Regions from separate parts of the Homo sapiens genome. Here all the other regions are linked to region 4. The links are contacts of gene promoters, found by promoter capture Hi-C in human tissues and cell types (Jung and others, 2019). All regions are on one chromosome and are shown on one strand. Each heading gives the region's core, a stretch centred on a gene start or on the middle of the fragment in contact. The rest is flanking DNA. Distances are from core to core; before and after follow the strand shown. Region 1 has its middle 13 kb from the start of ANAPC5. Region 2 overlaps RNF34 (ring finger protein 34). Region 3 has its middle 4.4 kb from the start of OASL. Region 4 holds the start of P2RX4 (purinergic receptor P2X 4).

Region 1 (3,033 bases), core at 356-2,855, 150 kb before region 4:
ATGACCAAAGAAAAGGGAAATATATCAAAATGACATAGAAGTTATCACTGGGTTGTGGAATGATAGTTTTCCTATTTCTGATTTATCTTGTTCTCCTTTTCTATATTTTTGATGTTTTCTGCAAACAGTATGTATCACTTTTTATAATACCTGAGAAAATATGGATCGGCTTAGTGGCTCATGCCTATAGTCCCAGCACTTTGGGAGGTAGAGGCTGGAGGATCGCTTGATTCCAGGAGTTCGAGACCAGCCTGGACAACATAGGGAGACCTGTCTCTACAAAAAATAAACAAAATTAGCTGGGCATGGTGGTGTGCAACTGTAGTCCTAGTTACTCAGGAGGCTTTGGATGAAACAAGTGGTCCAGAGACAACAATGAGAATTCCTTTCCCCAGGGAGGGAGGTCAATTCAGTTCGTGAGCCTTGAGAAGCTGAAATGCTACCTTGGATCTGGAAATACTTAGTGATGCTTATCAGGCTAGCGATCGAGTTTCCCCAGCAGCTCAGTTAATTACCCAGAACTTTCTGTATTGAGTGAGTCCTAAGACTCTGCGTGACTTTCTCAAAGTCAGGCCTCATTTTATTCAATAGGAGACATTTTTCCCCCTTTCAGCTGGATTTTCTTGGATTATCAAAAGAGAGTGTTTATGCATGCACACAGGAGAACCGGTTCACACATTACATTTTCCTTGCCCAGAGGAATCAGAGCAATTATCCATTCCCTCTAACATCATGTCTCAGAATTGTAGGGTTAGGGTTTGTCATTTTCAGAAGTTTTAGATCTGAGCAGCAGCAGGTCCAGCATGCGTGCGGTGACACTGCTGGCTTTCCCATCCGGGGTGGATGCTGGGAATGATGTGTCAGCACTTAGCTGCTGGTGAACTTCTGTCTAATGAACAATGGAGAAAATTGGCTCTAGCTGGCACAATTCTACTCGGGGTGTACAGTGTTCAGAGATACATGAAATCAGGAATATAATCATCCATTACTCAGAATAACTTTAAAATCTTTGATAATTATTTAGTTCTTTCAAAATCATCACATTGCTGAACATGATTCATGGTTAAATAGCAAGCTGGGTTTCTCATGCTCATTGAAATGTAGAGTCATTGCTGGTGGATGTAAAATGGTGCAGCCACTTTGGAAAACAGTCTGGCAGTTCCTCAAGAAGTTAAATGTAGAGTTAGCATACAACCCAGAAATTCCACTCCTAGGTATGTAACCCAAAGAACTGAAAACCTATGTTCATCCAAAAACATATATGTGAATGTTCATACCATCACTATTCACAATAGCCAAAAGGTGGGAAACAGCCCAAGTGTCCATGAACTGTTGAGTGGATAAACAAAACGTGGTCTATCCATACAATGGAATATTAGGCATAAAAAGGGATAAAGTCCTGATCCATGCTACGGTGTGGATGAACCTCAGAAACATGAAGCTAAATGAAAAGAAGCCAGACACAAAAGACCACATACTGTATAAATCCATCAGAATGGAATTTCCAGAATAGGTCCATCTACAGAGACAGAAAGTAGGTTCGTGCTTGCCAGGAGTTGGGGGAGGGAGAATAGGGAGTGACTGCTACTGGGTATGGCGTTTCTTTTTAGGGAGATGGAAATGTTCTGGAATTAGATAGTGGTGGTCACAGGCTTCTTTTCCTGGCTCCTGAGTCACCCTGATGGGTTGAACTAATAGGATACCCCACAGGGAGATTGGAGGACAAGGGAAAAGGAGAAGCTTCAGAATTTCTTGCCCTTTCTCTCTGCCTCAGGCAACATCCTCCAACAGTGGCTGTATTTTACTTGGCATCACCAACTCCTTCTCAGTGGCTCTAGCTGCTCACCACTTCCTTTGTCCATTTCGACTTGGGAGTGGCACGATCTTGTTACTCATTCTCTCTCTCTCTTTCTTCTTCTTCGTCTTCATCTTCTTCTTCTTCTTTTTCTTCATCTTCGTCTTCCTCTTCCTCTTTTTCTTCTTCCTCTCTGTCTCTCTCTCTCCCTCTCTGTCTCTCTCACTCTCCCTCTCTCTCTCTCTGAGACAGGGTCTTGCTCTGTTGCCCAGGCTGGAGTGCAGTGGCAAAATTGTGGCTCACTGCAGCCTTGACCTCCTGGGATCCCGAGATTCTCCCTGCTCAGCCTCCCAAGTATTTGGGAATACAAGTGTGTGTCACCACACCCAGCAATTTTTTTTTTTTTTTTGAGACAGAGTCTTGCTCTGTCACCCAGGCTGGAGTACAGTGGCGGGATCTCCAGCTTACTGCAACCTTTGCCTCCTGGGTTCAAGCACTTCTCCTGTCTCAGCCTCCTGAGTAGCTGGGATTACAGGCGTACGGCAGCATGCCTGGCTAATTTTTGTATTTTTAGTAGACAGGGTTTTGCCATGTTGGTCAGGCCAGTCTCGAACTCCTGACCTCATGTGATCCGCCCGCCTTGGCCTCCCAGAGTGCTGGGATTACAGGCATGAGCCACCATGCCCAGCCCACATCCAGCAATTTTTAAACTTTTTTTGTAGAGACAAGGTCTTGCTATGTTGCCCAGGCTGGTCTTGAACTCCTGGGCTCAAGCAATTCTTCCTCCTTGATCTCCCAAAGTGCTGGAGTTATAGGTGTGAGTCACTGCACCCAGCTTTATTGCTAATCTCTGTCCCATTTGGGTTCTTAGATCTTTCATTACTTGTGGAACCAATTCTCTGTATTCATCTTTTTGTTTGTAGCTTCTGTTTCCTGCCTGCTCTCTGATGGATAAACCCTTCTAAGGGCTCTATCAATTCATATTCCTTCCAGTACTGTGTGAAACTGTCAGTTTCCTCCAAACCTTACTGCATTTTATCATTGTGGGAAATTGTGTCCCCCGCTTCTACCTGCCCAAATTTATATGTTAAAGCCCTAACCCTGAATAACTCAGAAGGTAACCTTATTTGGAAATAGGGCCATTGCAGATGTAGATTAGTTAAAATATGGGATCCTATGAATCAGGGTGGGTCTCTAATTCAATATGACTGGTATCCTTATAAAAGGGTGAAATATGG
Region 2 (2,870 bases), core at 32-2,531, 200 kb before region 4:
CAGCCTTCTGGAAAGTTCAGAAATTTGAAGCAGGGGAAGCCCCTGTCACTAGTATATTTGAAGTATTTTTTTTTTTCCCATCCAGCATTTTTTTTTTTTTGGTGGTTTTGAGACAGAATCTTGCTCTGTTGCCCAGGATGGAATGCAGTGGCGCAATCTCGGCTCACTGCAACCTCTGCCTCCCGGGTTCAAGCAATTCTCCTGCTTCAGCCTCCCAAGTAGCCGGGATTACAGGCACCCACCACCACACCCGGCTAATTTTTGTATTTTTAGTAGAGACGGGGTTTCACCATGTTGTCCAGGCTGGTCTCGAACTCCTGACCTCGTAATCCGCCTGCCTCAGCCTCCCAAAGAGCTGGGATTACAGGCATGAGCCACCACGCCAGCCCCATGCAGCATATTTGAAAATTTTAATTTCCATCTCCCCTTTAAGCCCCATATTTCCTGGCATCCCAGTGCTGAAATGAACATAATTCCTTTTCTTTTTTTTTGAGACGGAGTTTCGCTCTTGTTGCCCAGGTTGGAGTGCGATGGCACGATCTTGGCTCACCGCAACCTCTACCTCCCAGGTTCAACCGATTCTGCTGCCTCAGCCTCCTAGTAGCTGGGATTACAGGCATCTGCCACCATGCCCGGCTAATTTTGTATTTTTAGTAGAGGCAGGGTTTCTCCATGTTGGTCAGGCTGGTCTCGAACTCCTGACCTCAGATGATCCGCCCGCCTCGGCTTCCCAAAGTGCTGGGATTACAGGTATGAGCCACCACGCCTGGCCATGAACATAATTTCTTTACATTCATTTTAGCACTGAAGTGCCAGGTAACACCCACCCCCGCTGCCCTTCAGTGAAACAGGTGTTTTAGTCCTGTACCTTCGTAGCTGCTGTCAGTACTTCTTGCTAAGGAATTGCCTAGGGTTGTGAAACTGCCCTTAAGAGAATGGTTTTCAGCCTTGGCTGCATGTTGGACTCACCAGGCAAGTCTTTAAAAATACTGATTCCTGGGGTCCCAGGCCCAGAGGTTCTGATTTCACTGGTCTGTGGTGCAGCCTGGGCACCAGAATTTTTTTGAAAACTCCCTGGGTAATTCTGATATACAGGCCAGGTTAAAAGCTTAAGACCTGCTCAGTCAAAGGGAAGATGTCTTCTTCCTGCCTACACTGTTTCAGCTGGGACATCACCCTCCACAAATTCCTGAGTGGAAAGGGCTGTGGTTACTTTGGAAGCCTGTGGCCCTAGAGTTCTGGAACTAATGCCTCGGCAACATACTCCCCAAGACCTGTCTACATGTTTTTCTGTTGTGGGATATGTAGTATTTTGCATCCCACTTTGGTTTTACCCAATCCTTTAAGAAAGGGTCAGCTAAGTTTTGGCCAAGTGTTGTGGTCCATGCCTATAATCCCAGCAGTTTGGGAGGCCGAGGCCAGCAGGTCACCTGAGGACAGGAGTTTGAGACCAGCCTGGCCAACATGGTAAAACCCCGTCTCTACTAAAAATACAAAAATTAGCCGGGCATGGTGGTGCACGCCTGTGGTCCAAGCTACTCGAGAGGCTGAGGCAGGAGAATCGTTTGAACCTGGGAGGTGGAGGTTGCAGTGAGCAGATATCACGCCACTGTACCACTGCACTCCAGCCTGGGTGACCGAGCAAGACTCCATCTCAAAAAAAAAAAGAAAGGGTCACCTGAGTTTTTAACAATCTGATTCTTCAATGAATCCCTTTCCTTTTTACCACAGATTGGCCTGTAACTTTTGCTGGACTTTGGTGCTCTCCTTGATTTTATTTGCTCTTTGCCTTTGGGCCCCAACTTTTATTTCCCACCTTAACTCCTCTGCACGTTTTCTTGTGTGAAATCTCCCAATATGAGGAGAAAGTCAGTGATTTCTGGGTCTATCAAAAGCAGCCATTGTTCAAAGTGTTTTTGTCCTTCTTCACCTCCAGGATGAAGAATCCATCCAGAAGATAAATCCTTCCAAGCCTGGACTCCATCTACCTGGCTCTCCTTTAGTATGTTTCATCTTCCTGTACTTTCTCATAAATTTCAGAAATTTATTCTGCATGCCTCCTCAGGGCAAAGGCATCTCTACCTACAACTGTCACCTTGACACTCACCTAACAGTGCTTGAAGTGTCCTATACTGATCTTTCCCCTCTTAAATCTGTACACATTTTCTAGTTTTTATTTATTTTTATTTTTATTTTTATTTTTTAGACAGAGTTTCACTCTTGTTACCCAGGCTGGAGTGCGGTGGTATGATCTTGGCTCACTGCAACCTCTGCCTCTTGAGTTCAAGTGATTCTTGTGCCTCAGCCTCCCAAGTAGCTGGGATTACAAGTGCCTGCCATCACACCCTGGTAATTTTTTGTATTTTTAGTAGAGACGGGGTTTCACCATGTTGGCCAGGCTGGTCTCGAACTCCTGACCTCAGGTGATCTGCCTGCCTCAGCCTCCCAAAGTGTTGGGATTACAGGCGTGAGCCACCACACCTGGCCATTTATTTTTATTTTTTTAGAGACGGGGTCTTGATATGCTGCCCAGGCTGATCTCAAACTCCAGGGCTCAAGGGATCCTTCTGCTTCAGCCTCCCAAATCACTGGGATTACAGGCATGAGCTACCACGCTTGGCCCACATTTTCTGTTATGACTTGACAGAACCTATAAAAGCAATTGGAGAACTATTTAAAAGACAATTTCCCCAAGGGTTTATTGAATCTGAGCTCTTACAGTGGAGAGGGGGACAAGGGATGGGGGGAACATATGCCAATCTATTTTCTGAGCTCTTCACACTCTGCCTCTGTTATATTTCCTTGGAACCCAGTTACCATATCCGGTAGGGTCATAACCAACAAGGATCCCTCTTCTGCACCCTCCTTTT
Region 3 (2,860 bases), core at 159-2,658, 170 kb after region 4:
AACCAATAGGTTAAGGTCTGAATGTTTATTGTTTGAATAACTTCTATATTGCCTTGAAGTTCATTGTCAGTCATCGTAACCATATGGCAAATGTTTGGAGTCTTAACCGGTTGTTGACTTAGCTTTGTGAAATTGTCACTGCTCTTTAAATCCTCATAATATGGTATTGCTGAAGGATCAGGTACTACCAAACACTGGAAATATAAGAACTTTTATAATTTATGTAATTAAAATATGTGATGCTTTCCACTTGGGGTTAGCCAGTTTGAAAAGTTAAATTGGAATGTGTCATGATGGACAAACTCCTTGAAAGAATCATCTGCACTTCTGGTCTCCATGCCCCCGACCCCACCCAGCCTAATCTGGCTTCAGCTCCCTCCTCTCGCCTAAAACTGTGCCCACCTTGATCACCAGTCGTTTTCTTGAGTACTTTTCAGGTCTGTATTTCTTAACTTTTCAGAAGCATTCAGCAATGTGGGTGACTTTTTTTTAACTCTGGTTATGCCCACCTCTTTGGCCACCCCAGCAGGTACCGCCTAAATTTCTCTTCCTCTGCTCATCACTTAAATTTGGGGCTTGGCCAGGCATAGCAGTTCATGCCTGCAATCTCAGCACTTTGGGATGCTGAGGTGGGAGGATTGCTTGAGCCGGGGTTCGAGGCTGCAGTGAGCTATGATTGCACCACTGCTCTCCAGCCTGGGAGATGGAACGAGACTCTGTCTCTACATTAGTTCATTTTGGTGTGATTCATTCTTCCCCAAGGTACCAGTGACCACGTGTATACTGAGGGAAATCAAATATGTCTTTACATGGAGCAGGTCACTCGCTTCTCATCCTTGGGTACTACCAAATCATTATCCAAAATGCACCCCTCGAACTCCCCACAGCCATACCCACTCCTCCTTCTCTCCTTGGGAATGGTGGCTCCAACAGTTACTCAAGGACACAAGCCAGAGAGCTGGGAGTCATCCCTGTCTTCTCCTTGCCCCTCACCTATAGTCAACAAGAAGCCCTGCCCACCCTTCTTCCAAAATAGACCTAGAATCCAACCCCTCTTCTCCACCTGCACTGCTTCCAGCCTTGTCTTGGGCCTCACTGCTTATCACCTGCACCCCTGCGAAGTGTCCTAATGCATTTCCCTGCATCTGCCCTTGCCCTCTGCGGTTCGTCCTCACCATGGAAGCAGCCAGACCAATCTTAACTCCACTACATGCCACTCCCCTAAATTTGCCACTGCCCTCAGGACAAAAAGCAGATTCACCTGGCACTCTTTTAACCCAGTGGATCATTTCCATTTCTTCTTCTTCTTCTTCTCCTTTTTTTTTTTTTTTTTTTTTTGAGACAGGGTCTCACTCTGTCACCCAGGCTGGAGTGCAGTAGCATGATCATGGCTCACTGCAGCCGCGACCTCCCTGGACTGAGGTGATCCTCCTACCTCAGCCTCCTGAGTAGCTGGGACTATGGGCACTCACCATCATACCTGGCTAATTTTTGTATTTTTTTGTAGAGATGGGGTTTTGCCATGTTGCCCAGGCTGATCTTGAATTCCTGGGCTCAAGCGATCCTCCCATCTTGACTTTCAAAGTGCTGGGATTTCAGGTGTGAGCCACCATGCCCATCCCATTTCCTCTTTCTTAAAACAATATCTTCACTTGGCCTTCAAACCATCACTCCTGATTTCTCTTCCACCTCACTAGCTACTTCTTTTCCTTCTTCTTTGCTGGACTCGTGCAACTCCCTAAACTCCGAATAATATTAAGTGCTCTGGGGCTCAGTCCTGGGTCTTTTTCTCTTCCTGCTGTGTCATCACTCCCTTGGTGATCTCATTCAGTGTCATGGCTTTAAACATCCCTATGCCGGTGACCCCCACATTTTATCTCAAGTCCAGACCTCCTCCCTGTAATACAGACTCGCATATCCAACTCCCCACCACATATCTCCACCTGGGTCTCTGACAGACACCCCAAACTTCAGTTCCAAAACTGAGTTCCTTCCTCATCTCCATGCCCAGCCTATCCCACCTCAGTTAAGGGCAGTTCAACCTTTCTGTTGCTAAGGCCAAAAGCCCCGGACTTAGACCTTGACTCTGATCTTTCTCTCTCATCATACTCTACCCATTAGCAAGACCTGTCAGCCTTGGAGTCAAAATATATCCAGCGGAATGACATGATGTCCAGATTCACTTCCAAATAACACAGTAGGGAATCTAGGGATGGGGGTAGAATTGAAACCAGACTGTCTATAAGTTGATCATTGTTGAAACTGGTGATGGTACATGGAGGTTCATTGTATTATTCCACTTTGTTTGAAATGTTCCAAAATCAGAAAAATTAAAACATACTATTTCACTGCTACCACTCTGATCCAAGTCAACTGACCTCTTGCCTGGACTGTTGCAGTAGCCTCCTAACCATACTTCTGCCTCCACTTTCACCTCCACTCCACCCTCTGCTTCTAATTTAATTTCCTCCCAGCAGCCAATGTGATTAATTCCATTAAAATGAAAGACCGTGTCACTCCTCCACTCAAAACTCTCCAATGTATGGTGTCAGACTCCTACAGAACAACAAAAAATGCTCCCCAGTGGTTCCCCATTTCATTCAGAGTAAAGCCAACTCCTAACAGTCGTCTTCAAGATCCTATCCACTCCTGCTCCTTGTTTATGGAATAAATCTTTTTAAAAAGATCTTATATCCTGGCTGGGTGCGGTGGCTCACGCCTGTAATCCCAGCACTTTGGGAGGCCGAGGCGGGTGGATCGCCTGAGGTCAGGAGTTAGAGACCAGCCTGGCCAACATGGTGAAACACCGTCTCTACTAAAAGTACAAAAATCAGCTAGGTGTGGCGGTGGGCACCTTGAA
Region 4 (2,845 bases), core at 6-2,505:
AAAAAATACAAAAATTGGCCGGGCGTGGTGGCGGGCACTTGTAATCCCAGCCACTCAGGAGACTGAGACAGGAGAATTGCTTGAACCCGGGAGGCAGAGGTTGCAGTGAGCCGAGATCGTGCCATTGCACTCCAGCCCGGGCGACAAGAGAGAAATTCCGTCTCAAAAAAATAAAAAAATTAAAAAAGTAACAGGTGCCTTCAAGTACAATGGCACATTCAGCGAGGCCTGAGGGCGGTAGGGCATCTCTAGCCTAAGGGGGCAGCATGGGGAATGACTGACTAGGCTAGGGCAGGTACCACAAAAAGCCCCACAAGCCCAGAAAACAAAGGAAGCAAACTTTAAACACTCGCTACAGTCTGACCTCGCTACTACCACATAGTGACACCGCATAGTGATCAAAAGAAATGACCAAAAGCCACCCACCCAGAAGGAACCAAGCGGAAATTCCAAGCTTTGGTTTTGTCAGCAAATCAGCAGGATGGGAAGTGGAGAGCGAAGATTGAGACGTTCAGGGCGAAGCCCCTACAGCCAAGGGGCACTATGGGGGGTCAGGCAGGAGAGGGTAACAGCCTAGCCAGGCTTTGCCTTTATTTATTTTGTAAACAGACGGGTCTCGGACTGTCTCCCAGGCTCGAGTTAAGTGGTGTGATCATAGCTCACTGCAGCCTCAGCCTCTTGGGCTCAAGCGATCCTCCCACCTCAGCCTCCTGAGTAGCTGGGACCCCAGGCGCGCGCCACCAGGCCCGGATGATTTTTAATTTTTTGCAGAGACGGGGTCCCACGATGTTGCCCAAATTGGTTTCGAACTCCTGGGCTCAGGCGATGGTCCCGCCTCGGGCTCCCAAAGTGCTCGGATTACAGGCTTGCGCCACCGCGCCTGGCCCAGGCTGTGGTTTTAAAACAGCAGCAAGCAGCCTCCCGCCCCCGGGGCCCCGGCGCGGCGGCTGGGGCCCAGGGAAGGTGTCACCGCCTCGGCTCGCCGCTCCCGGACTCGCCCAGGTGACCGAGGCCAGGATGAGCCGCCGCACGGCGCGGACGCGAGGGCAGCACCCGCCGCGCCCCCCGCGCGGCCCCACGCTCACCCGATGACGTAGGCCAGGATGAGCAGTTGCACGGCGCGGTTCATGAGCCCCACTTTGCGGCTGCGGATGAGCACGATGCGCGGCGTGTCGTACTCGAACAGGAAGGCCGCCAGCGCGGCGCAGCAGCCCGCCATGGCCGCGCCGCCCGCTCCCAGTCCCCTAGTCGGTCTGGGTCCCAGTCCCCGCTCGGAGCCCCGCCCAGTCCGCCTGGCCTGCTGGCGGCGCCGTCATCGCGGAGGAGGGCCCGGAAGGAGGCAGCACGGGCGGTCGGGGCCCGGGGCCCGGGGGAGGGCGCCACCTCCCCGTCGGGAACGATGACCCTCTAGGGGGCATGGAACTCGCGGGGGGGGAGTGGCCTCGCCCTTGAGGACGAAAGGCTCCTTCAAAAGGCGGGCGAGGGGCCGGGGGCGGTGGCTCACACCTGTCATCCCAGCACTTGCGGAGGCCGAGGTGAGAGGAATCTTGAGTTAGAGACCAGCCTGGACAACATAGCGAGACCTCGTCTCTATCAAAAATACAAAAAAAAAAAAAAAAAAAAAAAAAAAGCGGGCGTAGTGGCGCTCGCCTGTAGTCCCAGGGAGGCTGAGGTGAGAGGATCGCTTGAGCCCAGGAGGTAGAGGCTGCCGTGTGAGCTGTGATCGCGCCACTGCACTCCAGTCTGGGAGATGAAGCGAGACCCTGCCTCAATAAACCAGAAACCAAAAAACAACAAAAAAGGCGAGTTGGGGAGTAATGACCTTCTCAGGAGGGCCAGAGAGAACAAGAGACCCTTTCGGGGAAGATGGGGTCCGCGAAGAGAGAGTGACCTCCCATTTGGGACAGAGTTCAAGTGAGGGGTAACGAGCGACCTCCCTTAGGGGTACTGATAGGTGCCAGGGATTTCCGTAGAGGACCCCGGGGCTGTGCGGAGTAGCCATCGCTCACGAGTGCGGGCTCCTAAACTTGGGCAGCTGTGGTTGGGGGAGCTGGGGCCGCGCTGTCCTTAGCCTCTTGGGGAACAGCCTAAATATCAGGTGTCCTGTGAGCCCTGGGTGAGAGCCACACGCCCTGTAAAATACCCCTCCTGGATTTGAAGCCTGGTCGCATTCTCACTCCAAATACTTCCTTAGTTGCAGCCCAGGGGAGATAATTCTGTGGTCATCCTTTCCACTGAGAAAATGCTATCACAACTTTAGGAGAGAAAATAGTGAAAGGGGGGGAAACAGCCACCGTTCTACCCCATGAATACAATTTTCCGCATGTGTATTTGTTCATTCCCTTCAGATACGTTTTTTCTTTTTCTTTTTCTTTTTTTTTTTGAGACGGAGTTTCACTCTTGTCCAGTCTGGAGTGCAGTGGCGCGATCTCGGCTCACTGTAACCTCCGCCTCCCAGGTTCAAGCAATTCTCCTGCCTCAGCCTCTTGAGTAGCTGGGATTACAAGTGCCCGCCACCACGCCCAGCTAATTTTTGTATTTTTATTAGAGACAGGTTTTCACCATGTTGGCCAGGCTGATCTCCAGCTCCTGACCTCCCATGATCCACCCGCCTCGGGCTCCCAAAGTGTTGGGATTACAGGCGTGAGCCACTGCGCCTGGCCCAGATGTGTTTTCACAGGTGAATGTTATATTTAGTTTCCCAGAAAATATTCATAAGCACATCCTTTATGCCAAGTACTGTCCAGTGAACAGGACAAGCAAAATATCCTGCCTTCATGCAGCATAAATTCCAACAGGTAATTGGTATAAAGTTTTGGTTTGTAATCATAGTCAATGGCTGTGC

What was found. Contacts are between HindIII fragments. The study calls those that stand out against the background at their distance.
Region 1: a contact is called between a fragment that was not itself captured here and the fragment with the promoter of P2RX4 in region 4, in 1 of the 25 tissues and cell types used here (mesenchymal stem cells).
Region 2: a fragment that was not itself captured here is called in contact with the fragment with the promoter of P2RX4 in region 4 in 2 of the 25 tissues and cell types used here (dorsolateral prefrontal cortex and lymphoblastoid cells).
Region 3: a fragment that was not itself captured here is called in contact with the fragment with the promoter of P2RX4 in region 4 in 1 of the 25 tissues and cell types used here (liver).

The regions. Positions count from the first base shown.
Region 1 is chr12:121,363,684-121,366,716 of GRCh38, reverse strand. No RefSeq gene overlaps it. Among named protein-coding and RNA genes, the nearest start is that of ANAPC5, 13 kb to the right of the region's middle. The HindIII fragment of the contact is 3,500 bases long and covers 1-3,033 here.
Region 2 is chr12:121,407,776-121,410,645 of GRCh38, reverse strand. All of the region lies in intron 1 of RNF34 (ring finger protein 34), which reads right to left. It also overlaps a transcript of KDM2B not described here. Among named protein-coding and RNA genes, the nearest start is that of RNF34, 9.1 kb to the right of the region's middle. The HindIII fragment of the contact is 7,296 bases long and covers 1-2,870 here.
Region 3 is chr12:121,042,247-121,045,106 of GRCh38, reverse strand. No RefSeq gene overlaps it. Among named protein-coding and RNA genes, the nearest start is that of OASL, 4.4 kb to the right of the region's middle. The HindIII fragment of the contact is 8,761 bases long and covers 1-2,860 here.
Region 4 is chr12:121,208,539-121,211,383 of GRCh38, reverse strand. It overlaps P2RX4 (purinergic receptor P2X 4), which reads right to left and starts at 1,255. Exons shown (of 12, transcript NM_002560.3): 1 at 1,086-1,255. The coding sequence starts at 1,219. LOC105370032 (a long non-coding RNA gene) reads left to right here and starts at 1,312. Exons shown (of 4, transcript XR_001749352.3): 1 at 1,312-1,535. RefSeq lists an enhancer at 430-479 and a silencer at 810-1,549. The HindIII fragment of the contact is 10,060 bases long and covers 1-2,845 here.